Regions from separate parts of the Homo sapiens genome. Here regions 1 and 2 are each linked to region 3. Evidence: promoter capture Hi-C in 16 types of primary human blood cells and fetal thymus (Javierre and others, 2016). All regions are on one chromosome and are shown on one strand. The core of a region is centred on a gene start or on the middle of the fragment in contact, and the rest is flanking DNA. Distances in the headings are between cores, read along the strand shown. Region 1 overlaps FER1L5 (fer-1 like family member 5). Region 2 overlaps FAM178B (family with sequence similarity 178 member B). Region 3 holds the start of CNNM3 (cyclin and CBS domain divalent metal cation transport mediator 3).

Region 1 (4,035 bases), core at 387-2,886, 110 kb after region 3:
AATAGCCAGAATATTCCTAGCATCTTGCATATATTCTAGAAGATAGAAACAAAGAACTGGTAGCCAGCCCAAGGGGAGGGCTGTTGGTAGCAGGAGGAAAGCCAGGCAGCATGGACTAATTAGTCTCCTGGGGCTGGAAGTTCTGGGAAAATATCACTCAGGTGATTTGTGGGTCCTGGGTGGAGTTTCCACTCATGGTCTATTGTAGGCTTTAGGTTTGGATCCTGGGTGGGAAGGATGGAAGAGCTGGCGTTGCTGGTGTTTAGTGAATTGATGATATTGAATATTTTAATGGGAGGATACAGCTGAAGTTGAGGTTTGATCCAGCTCATGGCCAAATAGTGCTAGAGAGAACAGACAACAGTTAGCCTGGGGTGGCAAGCTGAAGACGCTGTCCCCAGAGTCATCCCGAGACCACCTTTGTCCTTGCCCCCATGGCTGCCACTCACCGGAGCTGAATAGATGAAGTTAAACAGCATAAGTGCTATAATCGATATGACCATAAAGGCTATGAGTTTGAAGCGATAGCGTTTCCAGAAAATATAGCAGAAGTTTTGAACTGGTGACCGCAGCCACGTGAAAGAGGTGTTGGTGCGTCTGTCCAGGAGCCAGGGAGATGTCAGAGAATGGCAGGGAGAACCTTCAGGTCAAGTAATCTGATGCAAAGAGCTTTCTTTTTTAAAAAAGCAACTACTGGGCCAGGCACAGTGTCTCACGCCTGTAATCCCAGCATTTTGGGAGGCCGAGGTGAGTGGATCACCTGAGGTCAGGAGTTTGAGACCAGCCTGGCCAACATGGTGAAACCGCGTCTCTACTAAAAATACAAAAATTAGCCGGGCATGGTGGCATGTGCCTGTTATCCCAGCTACTCAGGAGGCTGAGGCAGGAGAATCGCTTGAACCCAGGAGGCAGAGGTTGCAGTGAGCAGAGATTGTGCCACCACACTCCAGCCTGGGTGACAGAGTGAGACAATTATCTCAAAAAAAAAAAAAAAAAAAAAAAGGCAACTTTTGCTTACTCCAACCCTCACCCCAAGTCTGTTCTTTGCTGATTGTAACTGAGCACAGAGCTGTGGGGTGGGAGGTAATTACCACCTCTCCATGATAGGCCCACTGGTCACCACCCCATACACACTGAGGAGCAAGAAAGATCTGGTGCTTTTGCCCCAAGGACCCTTACAGGGGAGGATGAAGTGTGGGGTACTGGTTGGGTTCCGACTGGCCTCGCCCGGCTGGCTTGATTAAGGCTTCCTTCTCTGACAGAATCTCCAGGCTCATCTTCACCTTGCCCTAGGAACACCATGGGTGAGGGGGAGGCTGAGTGCAGACAGCAGGAGCCGGGTAGTTTTAGGACCTCTTCCCGGGATCAAGAAAGGAAAAGGGATTTAGCTAGGTCCCTAGATGTCTGTTAGAGCCAGGACATGTGGCATAGCAGCCCTAATCAGTAGACACTCCCCAGCTCCTACCGACAAGCGCCATTTGCCACCATCGAGGACCTGGCAAGGCCACCAGCCAGTCACAGTCTTCTTCTTAAAGAGGGAGAAGTGCTTGTATTGGATGAAATAGGGCCACTTGGGGTCGGCGTCCATCATCCTGATGGAGCACTGCTTGGCGTGCCGAGCCGGGAGGGGCATGTCAGACAAATCCAGCTCCAGGACCCCTGAGCCCAGAAAAATGACATCAGCAAGAAGGAGCTCCCTGTCCTGTGGTCACAAGCCCTGTGTCAGGACCTCACCTAGGAAGTCGTCGGGGGAGAAGATGTCATTGTCCCAGACCTGGATGATAAGTCGGGCTGGGAACTTCATGGACGTGGCATCCAGGCTCCATATGTAATCCTGGGGAAATGGCGGAAGGGCGTGTTACCGGCCTGTCTCCTGGACGTTTCCCTTGCACCCCTCAGTGGCCCTCCACCCAGCAGTGATAGACTATCAAGGAAGAGGGTTTCCACCTGAGGACATGTTTCTGATGTTCTGGGACAGATTGCAAGCCTCTGGAGGGGTGGGGGGAGGAGCTCCAGGAGCCTGGGTCTGTTTGTTGTGGCCTGTTGCCCCTCACGCCCCAGGCCTGTTACCTTCTGGCTCTGGACACACGTGCGCTCCGCCGCCAGGTAGTCCATGGTAAAGATGAACCGCCAGTTGAAGTCGGCCTCCCCAGTCAGCGAGTGGTAGTGGATGTCTGTCTTCTGCATGTCCTTCTCCAGCCCGTATAACCACCTGGGGCCAGAGTCCTATCACCTGTGGCTCATGTGCATTGGCCCCATCCCCCAGCTGGAGCCCCATGGGAAGGGCTGCCCAGCCGACGCCAGGCAGAGCTGGATGGAGAGGTGTCCCATTCAGGACTGGGCCGTGCCAGCAGGATGACAGAACTGGGGAACTGAGGGGCTCTGCCGGAGCCTGACTCCTCTTCCCTACCCTTTGATGTAGATGTCGCTCGTCTTCTCTCTACTTAAATTGTCATCCACCAGGTCCACATTGGCAGTCTTCCAGATGATGCATCGCAGCTCATACCTGTGGCCACTGTGCTCTGAGGCTTTGCTGAGGAGGAGCTCCCCAGCTGCAGCCTCAGTGAGGGCAGAGAAGCCTGGGAGGCTGCCCTGTGTGTTTTTGCTCAGTGTGGGGAATTCAGGGGAAGAAAGCTCCCAGTAGAGCTTCCTCTCTTCCCAATAGAGAAACGAATTACTGCAGCTCAGTACCTGAGGACAGTGGTGCCCTGCACTGGGGGAGTTCTGAACTGTGAAATGCAGCAGTTGGGAAGTGGGCTGTCACTCACCGTTTAGGCTTTCTGGGGTTGATGTTGACTTGGGGGCCAGGAGGCCCCAGCTTCTTGGGGAAGATGTCCACCCACATTTGCACCTTTCCCTAGAGCCGGGATACATTGACTGGTTGGGGGTTGCTAGCCTCTGTTCTCAGCAGGCTGGCCTGGGGTTCCCTGTCCCAGGTTCTGAGGTCTGTTGAGGTTGTGTTCCCAACACCGAGGGGTGGGGTACAGAGATATCTGTGAGGCCGCAGGTGACCACGCACCAGCTTCCCCCTTTCTTTTGGCTGAGAGAGTAGTGCAGGGAGATTGGGACACGGTAGCTTTGGGGCTGATGGCATGGTGCTGGGATTCCACTTACGACAGGTCTGGAGGGTGAATGCCACTCCCTAGGTCATGCTAGATGGCCTGTCTGGACAGGGGTCCAGATCGGAGTTGGGGCATCATTTATCAAGCAGCTTGGTGTTGCTTGATAGCCTCGAGTATGAGGAAACTAGATACCAGTCCAGATTTTCAGGTCATTTTATGTTATGAACTACAACCTAAGGGTATTAAGCTAGCCACACATACAGAGGAAAGAAGGTAAGGGATGAGAAGGAGGAGAAAAGGAAAGAAAAGGGGAGAACTGCCAACATTGAAGAATACACAAATACGTTCTGCCTTTCAGACCACCTGACCTCATTATATTCTTCTGAAGTTGACCCATTTGAGAAAACAGGTTTAATGGGAATGGTTTTTTATTTGTTTTTTGAAACAGAGTTTCCCTCTGTCACCAGGCTGCAGTGCAGTGGCATGATCTCAGCTCACTGCAGCCTCTGCCTCTCAGGCTCAAGCGATTCTCGTGCCTAAGCCTCCTGAGTAGCTGGGATTACAGGCACCCACCACCATGCCCAGCTAATTTTTGTATTTTTAGTAAAGAGGTTTTGCCATGTTGGCCAGGGTGGTCTCAAACTCCTGGCCTCAAGTGATCTGCCCGCCTCAGCCTCCCACAGGCTGGGATTACAGGCGTGAGCCACTGCACCTGGCCTGTGGGAATGGTTTTTTAAAAATTTTGCTCAGCAGAGGACTTTCTGTCTGGAATGTGGTATGAGCTTGAGAAGTTTAGAGAATGAGATGAGCCATTATGGTGGCTGCAGAGTGAATGATAATTAGGTGCGTTTGGGGATTTTTATTTCTCTGTTTGGGGTTATTTGCTGTGAAGAAGACACAGCCTACAATTAACAGCCAGAACCCGCGTTGTCATGTCTGCGCTGTCTGACCTGAGCGCCACCTTCCCACCCCT
Region 2 (4,042 bases), core at 1,269-3,768, 100 kb before region 3:
CCATGTCTGGCTCACGTAAATCAGTCACCTCCTTTCATCTCACCGGCTCACCTGGAGGGTGGCAGAGGCATTTCTTCCTCTTCTCCAAAGTCTGCCTGCTCTGTAGATGCCTGGGGGTTCCTGTGATGATCACGTCTCTGCCTTACCATGCTCCCCATTGCCTGCAGGGCCAGGTGCAAATTCTTAGGCTGGTCCCTAGGCCCCCTCATCCACCTCGTCCAGCCAGTTTCTCATTTGCTCCATCCAGGGCATGGTGTTTGTGGTTGTTTTTCTCACACATACACACAATAAACCTCACTCTTTTCACAGCTGCATAGTATTTCCCTAGTGTGTGTGCCACTGTAGTCTCCTAATGTAGCAGGGCGACCACAGTCCAGAACCCCTCAGACACCAAGTTGTGGAAGGAAAGGGCTTTATTCAGCTGGGAGCATTGACGGGCTCACGTCTCCAAAAACCGAGCTGCTTGAGTCAGCAATTCCTGTCGCTTTTAAGGGCTTACAACTCTAAGAGAGCCCGCGTGAGAGGGTCGTGATCGATTGAGCAAGCCGTGGGTACGTGACTGGGGGCTGCATGCACTGGTAATCAGAATGGAACAGAACAGGACAGGGTTTTTCACAGTGCTGTCCCGTGTAATGTCTGGAATCTATAGATAACATAAACCGGTTAAGTCAGGGGTCAGTCTGTAACTACCAGGCCTGGAACGCAGCACTGGGCTGTCTGACTACTGATTTCATTTCTTTCTTTTCTTTAACTCCTACTTTTTCTTTGAGGCAGAAATTGGGCATAAGATAACATGAGGGGTGGTGTCCTCCCTTACTAATACTGGACATTCTTCCAGTGACTGTTTAGTGTCTGTGCAGATATTTCTATGAGATAAATTCCTTGATGTGAAATTGCAACCCTAAAGTATGTAAAGCTGGACCTATTAGTAACACCACCAAATAGGTATGAAAGTGCATATTTTTCTGCATTCTCATTAATACTACATATTCCCAGTTTTGTTTTTGAGTTTTAGTCAATCTGGTGAGTGGAAAACATCATCCTGTGGTTCTAATTTTCATTTCCCTGATTGCCAGTGAAACTGAGTATCTTTTCATGTATTTATTGGCCTTTTGTGTTTCTCTTACTGTAAATTACCTTTTGGTATTTCTTACCCACTTTCCTATCAGTTAATTTATCTTCTTATCAACTCTGTTGATCTTCATGTTGCTTATTATGTTACAGTATGTTTTCTCCAAAGGTTATATAGATTGTCCTTTTTAAATCTTTATGTATGGTACCTTTCAGTGAACTGGAATTTTTTTTCTTTTTTTTTTTACTTTTTCAGTCCTTTTTTTTTTTATTTTAGAATAGATTTAGATTTACAGGACAGTTTTATGGATAATGCAGAGAATTGATTGGGATTTTTGTGTAATGTAATCTTTCCATGTGGAAGACGAAGGGTTTCCCCACCAAGACCATAAAGATAGTGTGCTTTCTTCTCTTTCAGGACTGGCTTTACTTTGTGTCCATCAGCTCTTAATCCCAACTCAAATCTGTTTGTCCTTGGTATGAGAGAAGGATCTAACTTGATTTTTTCCATCCCCAAACAGCCAGTGGGGACCCAACGTCAATTTTTCTGCCTTTTGTTTTGTTTTTTGAGAGAGGGTCTCACTCTGTCACCCAGGCTGGAGTGCAGTGGTACCATCATGGCTCACTGCAGCCTCGACCTCTTGGGATCAAGTAATCCTCCTGCCTCAACCTCCTTAGTAGCTAGGACTACAGACAGATGCCAACACACCCATCTAATTTTTAAATTTTTAGTAGAGACAAGGTCTCCCTATGTTGTGCAGGCCGATCTCAAATCCCTGGGCTGAAGTGATCTTCCCACTTCAGCCTCCCAAACTGCTGGGATCACGGGTGTGAGCCACCATGCCTCAGCTTTTTGGTCTTAATAATTCATCCTTTCAAGACAGATTTGAAGCTACCTTCTCCATATCCTAAGTTTATGACTTCACTCCTTCATCTGCTAGCCATGTTAAACTGTGATTTCATGAATCAGTGTCTTTTGTGGAATCTGTGGGTAGCTCCAGGGCCCATGGCAATTGCCCTTTAAATGCCAGGAAATGAATGAAACAGAGCATCTTGCGCCTGCCTTTCAGGCAGCCACGTCAGCAGGGTGATGCTTTGTGCCAAGAGCTTTACTAGGAAGGAGGGTGCCTTATCGGGATCAGTGTTATTGATTTTATTTTTCTAAATAGATAAAAGCATTCAAATAAAACAAAATTCGTAAGGTACCAAGGAGTACCTTTTTGAAAGTACTCCTTTCAAATTTGATGTTGAAAATGCGCTTCTTCCCCTGAGCCAGAGCCACCTGGCTGGCCGCCAGCCTCTGTCTGCGTGTGCACGTACCCGCCGTTTCCGCACCTTCTTTGCTCTTCAGGGTGTGTTCTGGCCGTCATCCCTGATTGGGTTGTAAAGGGCTCCTAATTCTTTTTTCCTGCCGCGTTGTACTCACTGTGGGTCTTCAGTGAGCTGCTGCTCCACTGTGCTTCCCGCGGCGGCCACAGAGCTTACTGGCTGCCTTCACTGGTGGCTGCCCCACTGGGCTCTGTGCCCAGACTGACCCCAGGAAGAAGGGCAGATTGGTGTACGAAGGGCTGTCACACTCTTTGTCTGCTCGACTGACTGGTTAAGCACAAAGCGAGAACTCCTGCTGACACTCATGCAGTACACCCGCAGCCCCTGCCTCAGCGTTCAAGACTTCATGGGATGCACTGCAAATGTAAGGAAGAGCTGGGCCTAACCATGAAAAATGAAAGTGAATACTAAGGCAGACCACCTGAAACAGAGCCAAGGGGAAGAGGAGGTTCTTGGAGGAACATCCACCTTGGGAGGTGGCGCCATTGGGGCAGCTCAGGCAGCTTTGGGAAGAGCAGCATGCCATCCCCACTTCTGTTCAGGGCTCCTGCAACTGCTTGCACTCTACTGAAAGCTGATGTCCCAGGCTCTGGGGATCCTCTTCCTTCACTGCCTGCGGCTATTCATTAAACATCCTGTGTGCGCTGCTTCAAAGCAGAAGGTCAGATGAAGCCAGCTCCCGCAGGCTGCCTGGTCAGATGGAGGAATGGACAAAGCCTGCGTAAAACGGCTCACGAAACCAGCCCTGACAATGACGTAGAGTTCCTTGCCTGGCAGACCAGAATCAATCCGAAAGGACAGTGCTGCCCAGTGTTGGCAGGATGTGAGGAAACAGGCATATGCTTCCCTGCTCATGAGATGCGGTCAGTAGTCCCTCTGGAGGCCAGTTTGGCAAAATCAAGCAAATGACTTTAAAATGTGCACACCCTTCAAAAAGCTAGATCGTTTTCTGGGGAACTAGATGGCAAAGATTCATTGACAAGGATGTTTGGCATAGCAATGTCATGATAGTGAAGAACTGGAAATTGCCTCAGTGCCCCACCATCGATTCAGTTCTGCCCGTGCTACGGAGTATTATATGGTACCTAAAAATGATGTCACAGGAAAATGGGAAAGTTAATGAAATACGCTGAGTGGAAAAAAGGCTTTGAAGCCATATGTAAAGTGTGATGCCAATTCTGTTTAGGGGAAAAGAAAGGCCATCTTTGGGTGTGAGGTTAATAGGAGTGTTTTTGGTTGCCTAGGGCTTATTTCCCCCTTTCTTTTTTTCTTTTTCTTTTTTTTTTTTTCCCACTCTGTCGCCCAGGCTGGAGTGCAATGGCACAGTCTCAGCTCACTGCAACCTCCGCCTCCCGTGTTTAAGCGATTCTCCTGCCTCAGCCTCCCAAGTGGCTGGGACTACAGGTGCGTGCCACCACACCCAGCTAATTTTTGTATTTTTAGTAGAGACGAGGTTTCTCCATGTTGGGCAGGCTGGTCTTGAACTCCTGACCTTGTGATCTGCCCGCCTCGCCCTCCCAAAGTGCTGGGATTATAGGCGTGAGCCACCGTGCCCATCCTCTTATTTCCCCTTTCTAAAGACCCTGTCGGCCTCCAAGCTCCTGCTCTTACCCCCACAGCCAGTTCTCACCAATTAGCCAGA
Region 3 (4,282 bases), core at 1,052-3,551:
TTAGAAAAGAAGAGGTGAGGCTGGGCGCGGTGGCTCACGCCTGTAATCCCAACACTTTGGGAGGCCAAGGTGGGAGGATCACTTGAGGTCAGGAGTTCGAGACCAGGCTGGGCAAAATAGTGAGACCCTGTCTCTACATAAAATTTTAAAAAACAGGAGATTAAAAAGCAAAAAAAAAAAAAAAAGGGCCGGGCACAGTGGCTCACGCCTGCAATCACAGCACTTTGGGAGGGCGAGGCAAGTGGATCACCTGGTCAGGAGTTCAAGACCAGCTTGGTCAACGTGGTGAAACCCCATCTTTACTAAAAATACAAAAATTAGCCCGGAATGGTGGGGTGCATCTGTAGTCCCAGCTACTCGAAGGCTGAGGCAGGAGAACTGCTTGAACCTGGGAGGCGAAAGTTGCAGTGATAAGAGATCGGCCACTGCACTCCAGCCTGCGCGACAGAGCTGGGAGAAAGGGAGACTAAGTCAGCATAAATGGAGTTACTTTTGGTGAAAGCAAAGTGTTAAGTTTCCCTGACTTTACCGCAGATAAGGGATTGACACCTAAATACCCTTATCTGCAGTAACGCCAGGGACCTTAAGAATGCTCTGAAGGAAACATTACAGGTCCAGTCAATTTGATATTACATGTGTGCACACAACAATATCCCAGATACCTGGAGACTACCATCTTTTCTATGTTCTTCTAGTTTCTATCCAAAAATTTGGACCTGCTACAAAGTCAAGCACACAGAAACACTCTGGGAGAGGGAAAGAGCTGGGGGATTAGAGGACAAGCGGACATACCCCTCCCTGCAAATGGGGGGGGGGGGCTATCCTGACGCGGGGGTTAAAGTGTTCGCTGTCTAAAGGATTCCTCCCACTCTGATCGATGGCCTTTAAGTATTTCAAAAGGTCATTCCAAGCTGCAAGGCCAATACCGTCTTGAAAAGGGACCTTAGAGGTCTCACTGCTCTCCACAGGGGTGGGACCCTTTCCAGAAGGCTTCCATAACTCTCCACCCCTTTTCAGGGAGAGGGCACTCGCACGGGCGTCCCCTGCACCATGCCCGGGCCGTTACCTCGCTTGAATTCCTCCAGGACAGCGTCCAGCTTGGTGTCGTTGAAGACGAAGTGGAGCGGATGGTTGTAGAAACGAGTGATGGTGCTGAGCGGCGTGCAGTCTTCGGGATCCACGAAGGCCAAGTCCTTGAGGTAGAGCATGTCCACGATGTTGGAGCGCTCCTCCTCGTACACCGGGATGCGCGTGTGGCCGCTCTGCATGATGCTGGCCAGGACGCCGAAGTCCAGCACGGTGCTGGCGTCCAGCATGAAGCAGTCTTCGAGGGGCGTGAGCACGTCCTCCACGGTCCGGCAGCGCAGCACGCCCTTGCTGAGATCGCTGTAGGGGTCGCCGCCGCCGCGCGCCAGCTCCAGCACCCGCTCCCGCAGCCGCCCGGGCCGCGCCGCCAGCTCCAGCAGCTGCCCCACGGGCAGCGCGACGGGCAGAGTGAGCAGGACGGCCAGGCGGCTGAGGCCGAGCGCTCGCGGCGCCAGCGCCAGCGTCCAGCGCCCGCTCACGGCGGCCGGCACCACCTCTCCCACCAGGAACACGAGCCCCGCGCTGCCCAACACGGCGGGCACCGCACGCTGGCCGGCCGCGCGGTACAGCAGCACCGCCAGCGCCGCCTGCGCCAGGCTGGCCAGCAGCAGCAGCGCGCCCAAGGCGCAGCCGGCCCAGCGCCGCGCGGGCTCCAAACGCCGCGCCGCCGCACGCTCCGCCTCCGAGCCGCTCTCGCGCAGCACCTGCACCTCGGCAGGCGCCAGCGCCAGCGCGCTCAGCTGCAGGCCTCGCGCCAGCGCTGCCAGCGCCAGCAGCCCGGCCGCCCCCAGGCCCAGAGCCCAGGGCGGCGCCGCCTCCTCAGCCGCCCCGCCACCCGGCTCCACGCGCACCGCCAGCAGCGCCGAGTGCGGGCGCACGGCCTCGGCCCGCAGGCGCAAGCGCAGCAGCGCGCGCCACTCGCCCGCGGGGGAGGCCGCCTCCTCCCGGCAGCCCGCCCCCTCCGGGGCCACCCAGGACCAAGAGCTGTTGGCGAAGCCCGGGCCGAAGAGGCGCAGGAGGAAGGTGGCGTCCGGCGTGTCCCGCGCCGCCCCTCCGCGTACCCAACCCGCGCCCGCCGCTCCATCCTCCTCCAGGCAGAAGCCCAGCACTCGCGGGCCCGGCGCGGCCTCCCCCGCGGCGTTGCCCAGGCAGAGCGCGGCGAACAACCAGCCTAACCGACCCGCCGCAGCTACCGCCGCCGCCATCGCCTGCTGCCCCCTCTCGGCCTCTCGCGCAGCCTACCCCGCTCGCCCCGCGCCTCCCCGGGCCAATCGTTACGGCTCTTCGCGCCTCCTCGGCCAATAGGCGGTGGGCGGGGGCGGGCCCCAGGGTCGGACTAGGCTGCGCCGGGGAGTAAACAAGTGGCGGCCAGGGGCGGGCCGGGGGCGTGGGGCTCCGGGCCCCGCCGAGTCTGCTGCGGCTCCGGATGCGCGGGGTGGCAGTGGCCGGGAGGACGCGGGGCGGCGGGCAGGGCCTCCCAAGCCCGGCTGTCCTCGGCCCGTGCGCGGCGCCCGGAGTCCCACTCCTCCCGATGCTGTCCCCCGCGCCCGGAGGCCGAGCCAATTCTCTGGGAAGTTCCCGGCTTGGGAGCGGAGCGGCCGGTCGGAAGAACCTCGGGTGCTGGCGCGCCTGAAGTTGCAGACCAGACTGAAATGTGCGAGACATGTGCCTTTTTCTTAGGAAAGGCCCCAGGTACCAGAAAGGTTTTCAGCGCGCCGACCTACGGGGCTAAGAGGGCTGAAATAAGAACCAGTGACTGAGCGCCGGGAGGTTTAAGGTTTATGGAAGATGTTCATCGCGCCGTACCCTACTAGAGGTTTGGGGACGTGGGACACAGCCCCTGCGTTCCCGCCGCGGACCCCGTGATAAATACACAGACACACAAAATCACTACCGCCTTGAATCTGGACAGCTACCTCAGGTGGTTAATATCTAACAGGAGCAGAGTGGAGCTCAGAAAGACTCAGCGTGGGTGCTGGGTTCCGGCGCGACCAGCCTGATACCTAGGTCAGCATCTCAGCCACACAAGCAGGCGGCAGTTCTGTCAGGAATTACTACATCTGGTGATTCCACTTCTCATAGCTCACCGCTGGGAGAATAATTCCTCAGGATTAACAAGATCTATTCCAGAGGATCCTCACTGCTGAAGCGATTTTAGAAGACAGTGTGGTCTGTTGACAGTATGGAATATTCTTTACCCATCAGATATGATCTGTATGTGATTGGAAGGAAATAAACCAACTGCTAACAACACTTCTCTATAGATGTTCAGATTCAGTAATTTTTGTATTTTTCTCTACACTTTTGTTTTTTCAAATTTCCTAGCACAAGAAGACTTTGACTTACTGCACATGTCATTTTAAATGACCTTTATAAAGACTCTATAGAAACAATTTGCTATGTCATGAAAGTAACAATCAAAAAAAGTATGCACATTGTGGCCACAAAGTAAAACTTGTGTGGAAGGTAATGTGCAAAAAAAAAAAAAAATGAGTAAGCTGGTGGTGAGTGACCAAAGGAAAAGGCTTTGTAAAAAACTTTTTTTTTTTTTTTTGAGACGGAGTCTCGCTCTGTCACCCAGGCTGGAGTGCAGTGACGCAGTCTCGGCTCACTGCAAGCTCCGCCTCCCGGGTTCACGCCATTCTCCTGCCTCAGCCTCTCCGAGTAGCTGGGACTACAGGCGCCCGCCACCACGCCCGGCTAATTTTTTTGTATTTTTAGTAGAGACGGGGTTTCACCGTGGTCTCGATCTCCTGACCTCGTGATCCACCCACCTTGGCCTCCCAAAGTGCTGGGATTACAAGCGTGAGCCACCGCGCCCGGCCTGTAAAAAACTTTTTAAAAGATGGTAATAGCTGGCCGGGCACGGTGGCTCACGCCTGTAATCCCAGCACTTTGGGAGGCGGAGGCGGGCGGATCACGAGGTCAGGAGATCGAGACCATCCGGACTAACATGGTGAAACCCCATCTGTACTAAAAATACAAAAAATTAGCCAGGTGTGGTGGCGTGCACCTGTAGTCCCAGCTACTCGGGAGGCTGAGGCAGGAGAATGGTGTGAACCCGGGAGGCGGAGCTTGCAGTGAGCTGAGACCACGCCACTGCACTCCAGCCTGGGCGACAGAGCAAGACTATGTCTCAAAAAAAAAAAAATGGTAATAGTGGCCCGGCGCGGTGGCTCATGCCTGTAATCCCAGC

What was found. The method cuts DNA at HindIII sites, captures the fragments that hold promoters and counts their contacts. A CHiCAGO score of 5 or more calls a contact.
Region 1: a fragment that was not itself captured here is called in contact with the fragment with the promoter of CNNM3 in region 3 in 2 of 17 cell types (M1 macrophages and naive B cells); the score reaches 5.4 in M1 macrophages.
Region 2: a fragment that was not itself captured here is called in contact with the fragment with the promoter of CNNM3 in region 3 in 6 of 17 cell types (activated CD4 T cells, total CD4 T cells, naive CD8 T cells and 3 more); the score reaches 6.5 in activated CD4 T cells.

Annotation. Positions count from the first base shown.
Region 1 is chr2:96,700,777-96,704,811 of GRCh38, reverse strand. FER1L5 (fer-1 like family member 5) reads right to left here. Exons shown (of 53, transcript NM_001293083.2): 46 at 2,769-2,857; 47 at 2,411-2,506; 48 at 2,071-2,212; 49 at 1,735-1,834; 50 at 1,466-1,659; 51 at 1,180-1,289; 52 at 450-597; 53 at 1-344. The coding sequence ends at 120. Among named protein-coding and RNA genes, the nearest start is that of LMAN2L, 37 kb to the left of the region's middle. The HindIII fragment of the contact is 6,205 bases long and covers 1-4,035 here.
Region 2 is chr2:96,915,453-96,919,494 of GRCh38, reverse strand. All of the region lies in intron 12 of FAM178B (family with sequence similarity 178 member B), which reads left to right. It overlaps LOC101927053 (a long non-coding RNA gene), which reads right to left and starts at 389. Exons shown (of 3, transcript NR_110209.1): 1 at 52-389. The HindIII fragment of the contact is 8,021 bases long and covers 1-4,042 here.
Region 3 is chr2:96,814,287-96,818,568 of GRCh38, reverse strand. CNNM3 (cyclin and CBS domain divalent metal cation transport mediator 3) reads right to left here and starts at 2,301. Exons shown (of 8, transcript NM_017623.5): 1 at 1,067-2,301. The coding sequence starts at 2,291. RefSeq lists silencers at 1,445-1,554, 1,565-1,704, 1,715-2,694 and an enhancer at 3,035-3,154. The HindIII fragment of the contact is 9,370 bases long and covers 1-4,282 here.